Linked DNA regions of Homo sapiens: region 2 is linked to region 1. The links are contacts of gene promoters, found by promoter capture Hi-C in human tissues and cell types (Jung and others, 2019). All regions are on one chromosome and are shown on one strand. Each heading gives the region's core, a stretch centred on a gene start or on the middle of the fragment in contact. The rest is flanking DNA. Distances are from core to core; before and after follow the strand shown. Region 1 holds the start of APOL4 (apolipoprotein L4). Region 2 overlaps RBFOX2 (RNA binding fox-1 homolog 2).

The links. The method cuts DNA at HindIII sites, captures the fragments that hold promoters and counts their contacts. A contact is called where the count stands out against the background at its distance.
Region 2: a contact is called between a fragment that was not itself captured here and the fragment with the promoter of APOL4 in region 1, in 2 of the 25 tissues and cell types used here (bladder and heart left ventricle).

What each region holds. Positions count from the first base shown.
Region 1 is chr22:36,199,381-36,204,039 of GRCh38, forward strand. APOL4 (apolipoprotein L4) reads right to left here and starts at 2,429. Exons shown (of 4, transcript NM_001386885.1): 1 at 2,320-2,429. The coding sequence starts at 2,354. RefSeq lists an enhancer at 2,405-2,904. The HindIII fragment of the contact is 28,208 bases long and covers 1-4,659 here.
Region 2 is chr22:35,934,000-35,938,658 of GRCh38, forward strand. All of the region lies in intron 2 of RBFOX2 (RNA binding fox-1 homolog 2), which reads right to left. Among named protein-coding and RNA genes, the nearest start is that of RBFOX2, 92 kb to the right of the region's middle. The HindIII fragment of the contact is 3,459 bases long and covers 424-3,882 here.

The DNA.
Region 1 (4,659 bases), core at 1,179-3,678:
AGGAAGAGAAAACAAATTGTGGGATTGAATGTGAGCCACCTATGGGCAAAGGGAGGCTTGAACAGCTGGGCCTCTGCAGATCCCTCTGAGGTGGCAGCAAATGCCAAGACCAACCTAACCCAGATTCTTTCTCTATCACCAAGTCCCCATCATCTGCTATTTACAGACACTCAACTCATTCCAGCTCCCTCTTCCCTCACTCTCACACCAAGGAAAAGTCCGCTTGTCCTGTTGGAGAATGAGGAGAAGATAATCAGAGGAGGGGCAGCCATCTGATCATTACAGAAACTACACAGTCTATACGCAGAAATAGAGATGGGAAGGAACGTTCTAACAATGACCGGAAACATGTGTGACAACTAATTGATGATAGCCAGTCTGTATTGAGTGTCTGTGATGTGCAGGGCTTCTTTTTTTATTTTTATTTTTATTTATTTATATTTTTTGAGACGGAGTCTCGCTCTGTCGTCCAGGTGGAGTGCAGTGGCGCGATCTCGGCTCACTGCAAGCGCCGCCTCCCAGGTTCACGCCATTCTCTTGCCTCAGCCTCTCGAGTAGCTGGGACTACAGGTGCCCGTCGCCACATTCGGCTAATTTTTTGTATTTTCAGTAGAGAAGGGGTTTCACCGTGTTAGCCAGGATGGTCTCGATCTCCTGACCTCATGATCAGCCCGTCTCGGCCTCCCAAAGTGCTGGGATTACAGGCGTGAGCGGTCGCGCCGGGCCTGTGATGTGCAGGGCTTCTGACATGTGTCTCATTCAATGATCACACACAGCCCGGGAGATGGGTACCACTTTCCCATTTGAACACAGAGGAATCCACAAAAGTTAGGGAACTTGCCAGTGTTTTCTATTGCTAGAGCCAGGACTTCTGCTTCAACCTCATGTCTTCAATGACTGTGCTCTACTCCCTTAAATATACAATATTGAGTCATGTATACACGCTCATGGTAAATGACTCCTCATTGCAAATCCATGTCTCACACTCCGTGCTCAACTTTTCGTCTTGGTGAATTCACTGGTGCTGCAGTGGACAGCCTGTGTCCCCCTTGCTTCTCTAAGATCCTTTGTCCCACAAAGACCTGGATCCTGCCAGATGCCGGCCTAGCCCCTGCTGTGGCTGCCGAGCCCTCCTGGCGCTGCCCTGTTCCCTCTGCTGTCCTCCCCTAGCTGATGGACCTTAGGGTGTTTCTAATTCTTCATGTAAATTATGCTACAAAGAACACCCTCCTTCACGTAAAACTGCCCACATTTGATTTTATTTCCTTAAGATATTTGTAGGAGTAGAATGACTAGGTCAGAGGGTATCAACATCTCAAAATGTTTTATACCTAGAGCCACACTACATGCAAATTGTACCAATTCACACTCAAACTAGCAGTATATGAAGATGCCCATTCTTTCAGTCTTACTGGCTCTCAGTAGTCTCTTTATCAGGACAAAAAATATATACACAACATGTAAATTTGAGAACTAAATATCTTGTTATCAATACCAATTAGTACAAACTTTAAGGCACGAAGGTAGCAGTTGAGATGTGAAGCACTGAACAAAGGAGAAGGAGGATTAATATTGTCATTTTTTAAAGATGGAAGTTAAGAAATACTGGGTACAACTGAGGGTATAAGAAAGTTGTAAGTAAATTGTTTACAGCTACAAAGTTGCTAATGGAAGACATAAAACTGGTGATAGAATGTTAGGAAAAGGTGGAGAGGAGAGATAGAGGGAGGGTACAAATAAGATGAAAATGACTAATAATGATACTATAAATAATAACAATACCATTTCAGGCCCATCCCAGTTAGGGGCGGCTCCAAGCATTACCATTGTTCTTTTCTCACCGTGTGTCTCTGCGCACTCCCTGGCACACCCACTTCCAGCAGCTGGTCTTTGTTTGCAGACTTTATTTTAACAGCTCAGTGGTTCCCGGGCCCCCTGATGGGGTTCCATCCTCCAGCTCTCATACTAAAGCCCCCTCCTCAAAAGCCACTCGCCTCCCTCTTTCCCTTTCCTGCCTTTGTCTCAGGGTTCAGACACACAGATGTCTGTCTTCTGGGGCCCCCATGCAACAAGGGTAAAAGGGGGACCCAGTCCTGGGCAGCATTCACCAGGGGAGTATGCAGAGGGGCGTCTGGGCGCTTCTTGCTGTAAGGGACAGGGGTGACAGGAGAGGGGCATCCCTTCGCCTTCTTCCTGCTTTGTTCACTGTGTGACCCCCTAGGCCAAGGCAACCATCTCAACACCATGAGCCAGTAGAACTGGGAGGACCAGGAGAGAGCAGAGGAGCAGGAGGGCAGAGAGCTGGGGCCTCGGACTCACCCGACGCTTGTGATGAGCTGCACCCAGGATCCCATCCTCCTTGGTCATTGTTGGCCTGGCTCAGACGCTGATCTGGGGCCTCTGCTGAATGTTGAGGCTGGATACTGACTGTTAGCCTCAACTAGGACACAGTGCGTCCCCTCTAGGCGAGTCTACCAGTTGGTCAATTCCGGGAAGTGATTTTGGTTCCTAGAAAAACCCACATGGCTCCTGGCCCAGCCCAAGCCCTGCCCAATTGTGCAGCCCAGACAGGGAGCCCTCCCTCCCACCTCAGGGCTCTGAGCCAAGCTCACCAGATGCAGACGACAAAGATTTTCAGCAAAGCAGCTCCCTCCATGTCGCTGCGGGGCCTCCTCCTTGGGCAGGAAAAGAGGGGTTGAGACAGTGTGCTCCTCCTGAGAAATCACCATTTTCATTTCATTTTTAATAAACCGTTTTGCTGTGTCACCCAGGCTGCAGGGCTTTGACGCCATCCTAGCTCATTGCTGCCTAGATCTGCTGGGCTCAAGTGATCTTCCTCCTTCAACCTTCTGAGTAGCTGGGACTACAGGTGCACGCTACCATGCTGGGCTAATTTGTTAATTTTTGATTTCATAGAGACAGCATCTCCTGTGTTTCTCAGGCTGTCTTGAACTCCTGGCCTCAAGTGATCTTCCCGCCTCTGCCTCCCACAGCACTGGGATTACAGGCTTCAGCTATAGTGCTTTCTATCTTGATGGGCATCTCTTTTTGGTGAAGAAAAATCAGGCCGGGAGCGGTGGCTCACGCCTGTAATCCCAGCACTTTGGGAGGCCGAGGCAGGCAGATCACAAGGTCAGGAGATGGAGACCATCCTGGCTAACATGGTGAAACCCCATCTCTACTAAAAATACAAAAATTAGCCGAGTGTAGTGGCGGGCGCCTGTAGTCCCAGCTACTCGGGAGGCTGAGGCAGGAGAATGGTGTGAACCCGGGAGGCGGAGCTTGCAGTGAGCAGAGATTGCGCCACTGCACTCCAGCCTGGGCAACAGAGCGAGACTCCATCTCAGAAAAAAGAAAAAAAAAAAAAGAAAAAGAAAAATAAGACCACGACTCAGATTTCACAGAAATTACCCCCCTGATTTCATGGACTTTTGGCAGCTCTATCAGGTTTCTGAGAGGGGAAAATCTTAGGCTGGGAGGGGAGGTGACTTGCCCAGAGTCGCACAGCTCTTGGAGAGCAGACGGGAAGCCAACATCTGCCCTTGTGACTCTGCTATTGAAGAAAAACGGGTGATTTTAGTAATCCAACAGTGTCCAGGTTTGATTCTGCTTCTACAAACACAGAGATCTAAGCTCTCACTCCTGTAGTTACACTCACAATTCCACAGGTGGCTTTTGAATCTCATGATTACAAAGCTGGCGTCATGCCACAGGCACCATTCTGCAATGCGACCTTCTCACTCCCCTGTCTCAGCCATGTTTCCTATTGCGGGATCTGGCCAGCAGCCCCCAGTGCAACGGGGCTCTCTCTTTGCTCCTAGGCGGATCGGCAGGTTGAGAAATAATAGACACACACAAGATAGTGAAAGCTGGGTCCAGGGGGGTCACCGCCTTCTGGTCAACAATGCACTGGATATACCAGCATTTATTATTCAGTTTAGTGAGGGCGGGGGTAGGTTAGTGAGGGATTTAGGGTCATTTGATTACGAGGTGGGATGGTCACATGGGGATGAAGTAATTCTTTAACATAACATTCGTATGTAGAAGTACAGTGCATTTGTATGTAGAAGTACAGTATACAGAGATAAGAATTTACAATATAGTGTGTGCGTCAGTAATTTCTAACAGAGCCTTAAAACAGAAACACAATCTTTCCATAACCTATGATTAGCAAGATATTAATCAGCAGTAACAATTGCAACAAAAGCTGGTTACTGACAATCCATGGAAACAGGACGTGAAGCTAGATAACCGGTTAGACTAGAAATTCTCAGAAGGGAGTATACCTGAACCCTAAAGATGCCTAGAAGAGCCACGGCAAGATGATAGCATTTATAGCCCTAGCTTGTCCATATGGACAGGCGCCCCCCTGCATCCATTCATAGGCTCTCTGCAGGGGGAAGCACATCACGTGCTGTTGGTTCGTTCTGGCAGTCCAACCTGGCATTGTCTTTACACAATCCTGCATGCAATTTTGTATTTACAATAATCAGGAGCATTTCATCTTTTATTCCGTAGCAATAGTTTCAGGGGGTCTCCCTACAGTTTCCCATTAGGGACACAGCACAGCCTGTTTCTTCTCCATCACCCCAGAGGTCTGAACAGAGGGACAGAGGTGAGGGCCACAGACATGGAGTCCTATGATCTACCTGCTCAGCC
Region 2 (4,659 bases), core at 903-3,402, 270 kb before region 1:
ATGTGAATGCTTTGTGAAAAATAAGTCAAGACACTGAAAACTTAGGCTCAAATTAGATGTGGGCAGGATAACTGTAAAAGACCGGGCAAGAAGGGAAAACCATACAAATCTAGATAGACAGTTTCACCCAAATTGCTCTGAATGTCATCAAGACCGTGTTCCTCTTTAAAAAAAAAAACAAATTAGAACTCACAGATGATGCTCTGGGAGCACAGTTTATGCAAAAAATTCAAGTAGTATTTCAATCACATCTATATATAAGGATCTTGACCTCATATCAGGAAACTAAAGAGTAAGCATATATTTGTTTAAATTAAAAATGCTCTATATTAAAATAAAAGTTTAAAATATTTCCCCACTTCAACCAATTGTTTAGATTAACCCACGGCCTACTAGTTCTGATCACTTTGGTTAAGAAAACACTGACTGTATTTCTTCAATTAGAGAAGGATGGCCATACATCCCAGTTTACCTGGGACTGTTTGAAACTAATTATTGGCATCACTTTTTATTCTCAAAAGTGCCCCAACTTGAATGCTAAAGTTTATATGGTCACCTTATTTATAACAGACATAAAGTTGTTGCACCAAAAGCGAGCGAGGGGCCAGCCTTAGGAGCCTTAGGACCCCCATCACTTTCTAGGAAACCCCTAAGAGCCATCCCATATAAATAATCTTCGCAAAAACAGTAAGGCTGCTGTGCAGAACAAGGCCCTCTTCTAATCAGATTGCTGCTCTTAAGCTCTTCTTATATAAAAACCCTAGAGCTGATGCACATAAGTATTCTCCCACTTTAAAAATACTGCAAATCCATAAAACATTCTAGCCTTAATCAAGGCCTGGGAACACGCCTAAGCACATGCACAAATCACAAACAGTCAACTAGGAATCTAAACCACTACATTGTATCATCAATCTAAAATCCTGCCTGGGTTTATTTATTCATTTATTTTTGAGACAGGGTCTTGTTCTGTCACCCAGGCTGGAGCGCAGTGGCACAATCATAGCTCACCACAGCCTCAATCTCCCAGGTTCCAGCAATCCTCCCACCTCAGCCTCCCGAGTAGCTGGGACTACAGGCACACACCACTACACCCGGCTGATTTTTTTTATTTTTAGTAGAGACAAGGTCTTGCTATGTTGCCCAGGCTGGTCTCCAACTCCTGAGCTCAAACAATCCTCCTGCCTTGGCCTCCCAAAGTGCTGGGATTATAGATGTAAGCCACTGCACTTGGTCCTGCATGGCCTTAGATAAAATTTCTCACTTTTCTGAACTAGTTTTCACTTATGTAAAACTGGAACAATGTTTGTCTCCTCCACTTCCATAGAGAAACCACATTAGAAAGTATAGTGAAATGCTCAGAGTGCTTTATAAAAGCAATGGATTGTCATCCCATAAAGCTTCTTAATAGATCAAGAAAGAAGGCTGAGGTGACCTTGCATAAACATGCAAGAGGTGGCGGGTGGTTTTCCCTGCTCCTTTCCTTCAGGTGTTTAACTCCAATGTGCTATTGGGACTGTATATAACATGACAAAAGAATCACTAAAAAAGTGAAATGCTGGTGGTACACTTGGTGCTAACAAACTTAGTAGTAATAATCTTTAATCAGGAGTCACAGACTTCTACATCTGTGGTTGAGCTTGAAGAAGTCTACGAAGCCCCCACATGGTAAATAAAATAATGTAAATGAGTGAATGGGCACATTCACACGTGACCACATTTTCCTATGGTCAATCAATAATTCTCCAGTACAGAGAAAAGGACCCTCAGACAGAAGGGGAAATTTCAGCTCTTATTTAGCTACTTACTTGAATTGTTGCCTTGGATAAGTCACTTTACCTCTGTGTGCTTCAATTTCCTCATCTTTCCAGAGGGAATATTTGCCTCATCTACTTCAAAAGGGGTGTTTGGGAGAATAAGATGAGAAAATACAATGAAAGTGGTCCAAAACAATCAAAAGAGTTATCTCTTTTTAAATCACCATTCAGCCACTGATAAGAATCTTGTCTGCAGATGGTTCTCATCTATTTAGGAAGGAACAGTGAAAGAATAAGGAAAGCAAACAGGCCGGGTGTGGTGGCACACACCTGTGGTCCCAGCTACTCAGGAGGCTGAGGTGGGAGAATCACTTGCACCCCAGGGGTCAAGGCTGCAGTGAGCCATGTTCATGCCACTGCACTCCAGTATGGGTGACAGAGCAAGACCCTGTCTCAAAAACCAAACCAAACCAACAACAACAAAAAAAAAAAAAAAAAAAAGGGAAAGCAAACAAAAGCACAATTAAAATTCACCTTCACCCCATTCCCCAGTTCCTCGATTTGCTGAGCCAAAACCATGCTGAGGAGACGTAAAGATCACAAGTTCCATTTCCGCCAGCTCAGACTGTTCAGCGACCAGTGTTTCACGCTGATAAATGCCTCCCAAATCTCAAAACGCAAAGTGAGAGTTCACAAGGTTAGGCGCATTAATTAGCAGTACTCATTTGGATTCTGTATTCATCAAATACAACAAGCAGCTATTCAATATTTGCCTATTTGCACACTCTAAGATCTCTAATTCAAAGATCCAACCAGAGTACAAATTAAAGCCCAAGAAAATAAACTAAAATAAACCTGTCACCATCAGAATGTGCCTCAAAGTAAATCAGCAGCTTTAAACCATGGCAAAGGGTCTGTAACAGGCCTGCAGCAGAGACAGCATGAGTAATGAATGTGCAGGTTACAGAAGTGGGCCCCTACTGCAAAAGAAAGAAAAAGTAGGTACAATCAAAGAGACTACTTTTTTAGGCTTTAATAAATTCCTATTAACTCCTTTTGCTTAGCTCCTTATTGATCTATAATCCCCACAAGAAGAATACAGTACCCTTTCAGTCTTCTAAACTCAGTAAGTCTATTTCCATACTTTACATCAATTAGCTTTACCTTCCTAAATCCACAATAAGCAACATTTTATAAATAATAAAGTAACTGCATTAGTTTGCAAGACTAGATTAAGAGACTAACCACGACCCCTTTATTACATGTCCTAAGTGAAAAGTACAGGATGAAACAGAAACTGTCACTGCTTTTAAAGCAGCCCATAGGACTGTAGTTCTCAACCGCACTACACAGCAGAATCACCTTTGGGATTTTTAAACATTTGAATGGGTAAGCCCAATCTTACACTTACCCAATCAGAAACTCCGTGGGGTGGATCTCCAGGTATGAGAATGTTTTTCTGATATATGACTAAGATATAAAAGTACTATCAAAGGCATAAGTTTCCCAGCTTAGAGAAGCTCTAGGACAGACACAAACCAGAATGAAAAACAAATAAATCTTTACATTCTCTTTAGATTTAGGGTAAATGGCCCTATCTTTTACCAAAAGCTTCCATCTTCAATATCAACAGTGATGAACTCAGTAGGGGATGAACACAGAGCTAACAACACTTCTTCTCCCGATGCCTTATCTGGGGCCACTCTGATATCAACTCAGCACCAAAAGTGCAAGAATTGGACAAATACTCTCAAATCTGAAAGGCCTGCAAATAGGTGACTATTGATTATCAACCATCCTAGTTTTTGTTTTTTTGTAGTTGTTGTTTTTGTTTGTTTTATGTTTTGTTTTTGAGACAAAGTCTCGCTCTATCACTCAGGCTGGAATGCAATGGTGTAGTCTCAGCTCACTGCAACCTCTACCTCCCCAGTTCAAGCAATTCTCCTGCCTCAGCCTCCCGAGTAGCCAGGACTACAACTGCATACCATCACACCCAGCTAATTTTTGTATTTTTAGTAGAGCCGGGGTTTCACTATGTTGGCCAGGCTGGTCTCAAACTCCTGACCTCATGATCCACCCACCTTGGCCTCCCAAAGTACTGGGATTACAGGCATGAGCCACCGCACCCAGCCGACCATCCTAGTTTTTAAGATCCACTTCAGGAGCTCTGATGAGATTCAATGAACTTCTGGAAAGGACACTATGAACTCTTTCGTTTAGCACTGTAACTCATATCTCCTGGACAAGTATAACAATGGTAGCTTTTTTTGACAACCCTGTAAGGAATAATGGCATTCCAAGATATTTCTAGGAGCTACCCTTTCAAATCTCCTGAAGAACGTCAATATCCCCAAACATCAAAGATACAAATTTCTTTCAGAGGCGAGGTGATTTAAGCCACACCATTTCTCTAAGAGGAAGCCTTACCTGTTCTTCTATCCTAACTCTGTTTCAACGTCATGGGCTCAAGTATTCAAACAACAAAAAGATAGGGAAGGCATTTTACACACTTGCCTAAACCATACTGAGGGTGTCTCGTAGGAAGCAATTCTGCTCTGACCCATAATAGGGCCTGGGCTTTTCCAGTCATCCTCCCATCTAACAAAGAAAGGTGGCAGAAACTTTGCTTTCTCAGGCAAGCTTTCCCTGATTAAAACCATAAGGCTGAATTCCCCCAGGGAGGAGAATGGAATTTTCTTGCTACAGATCATTACAAGGACTCAAAAACTCTGTGCAGGCAGGGGCTAACTGGCAGGTAATAAAGAGACAAGTCCAGCATTCAGAATTATAAGGCATCAAGAAAACCAGGTCAAAAAATTATTATGTAGCCTGGAGAAGAAAATACAAAACCAATCATGACTGTGCTTGAGTGATTATTTTCTCTTCTAATATCCACAATTTT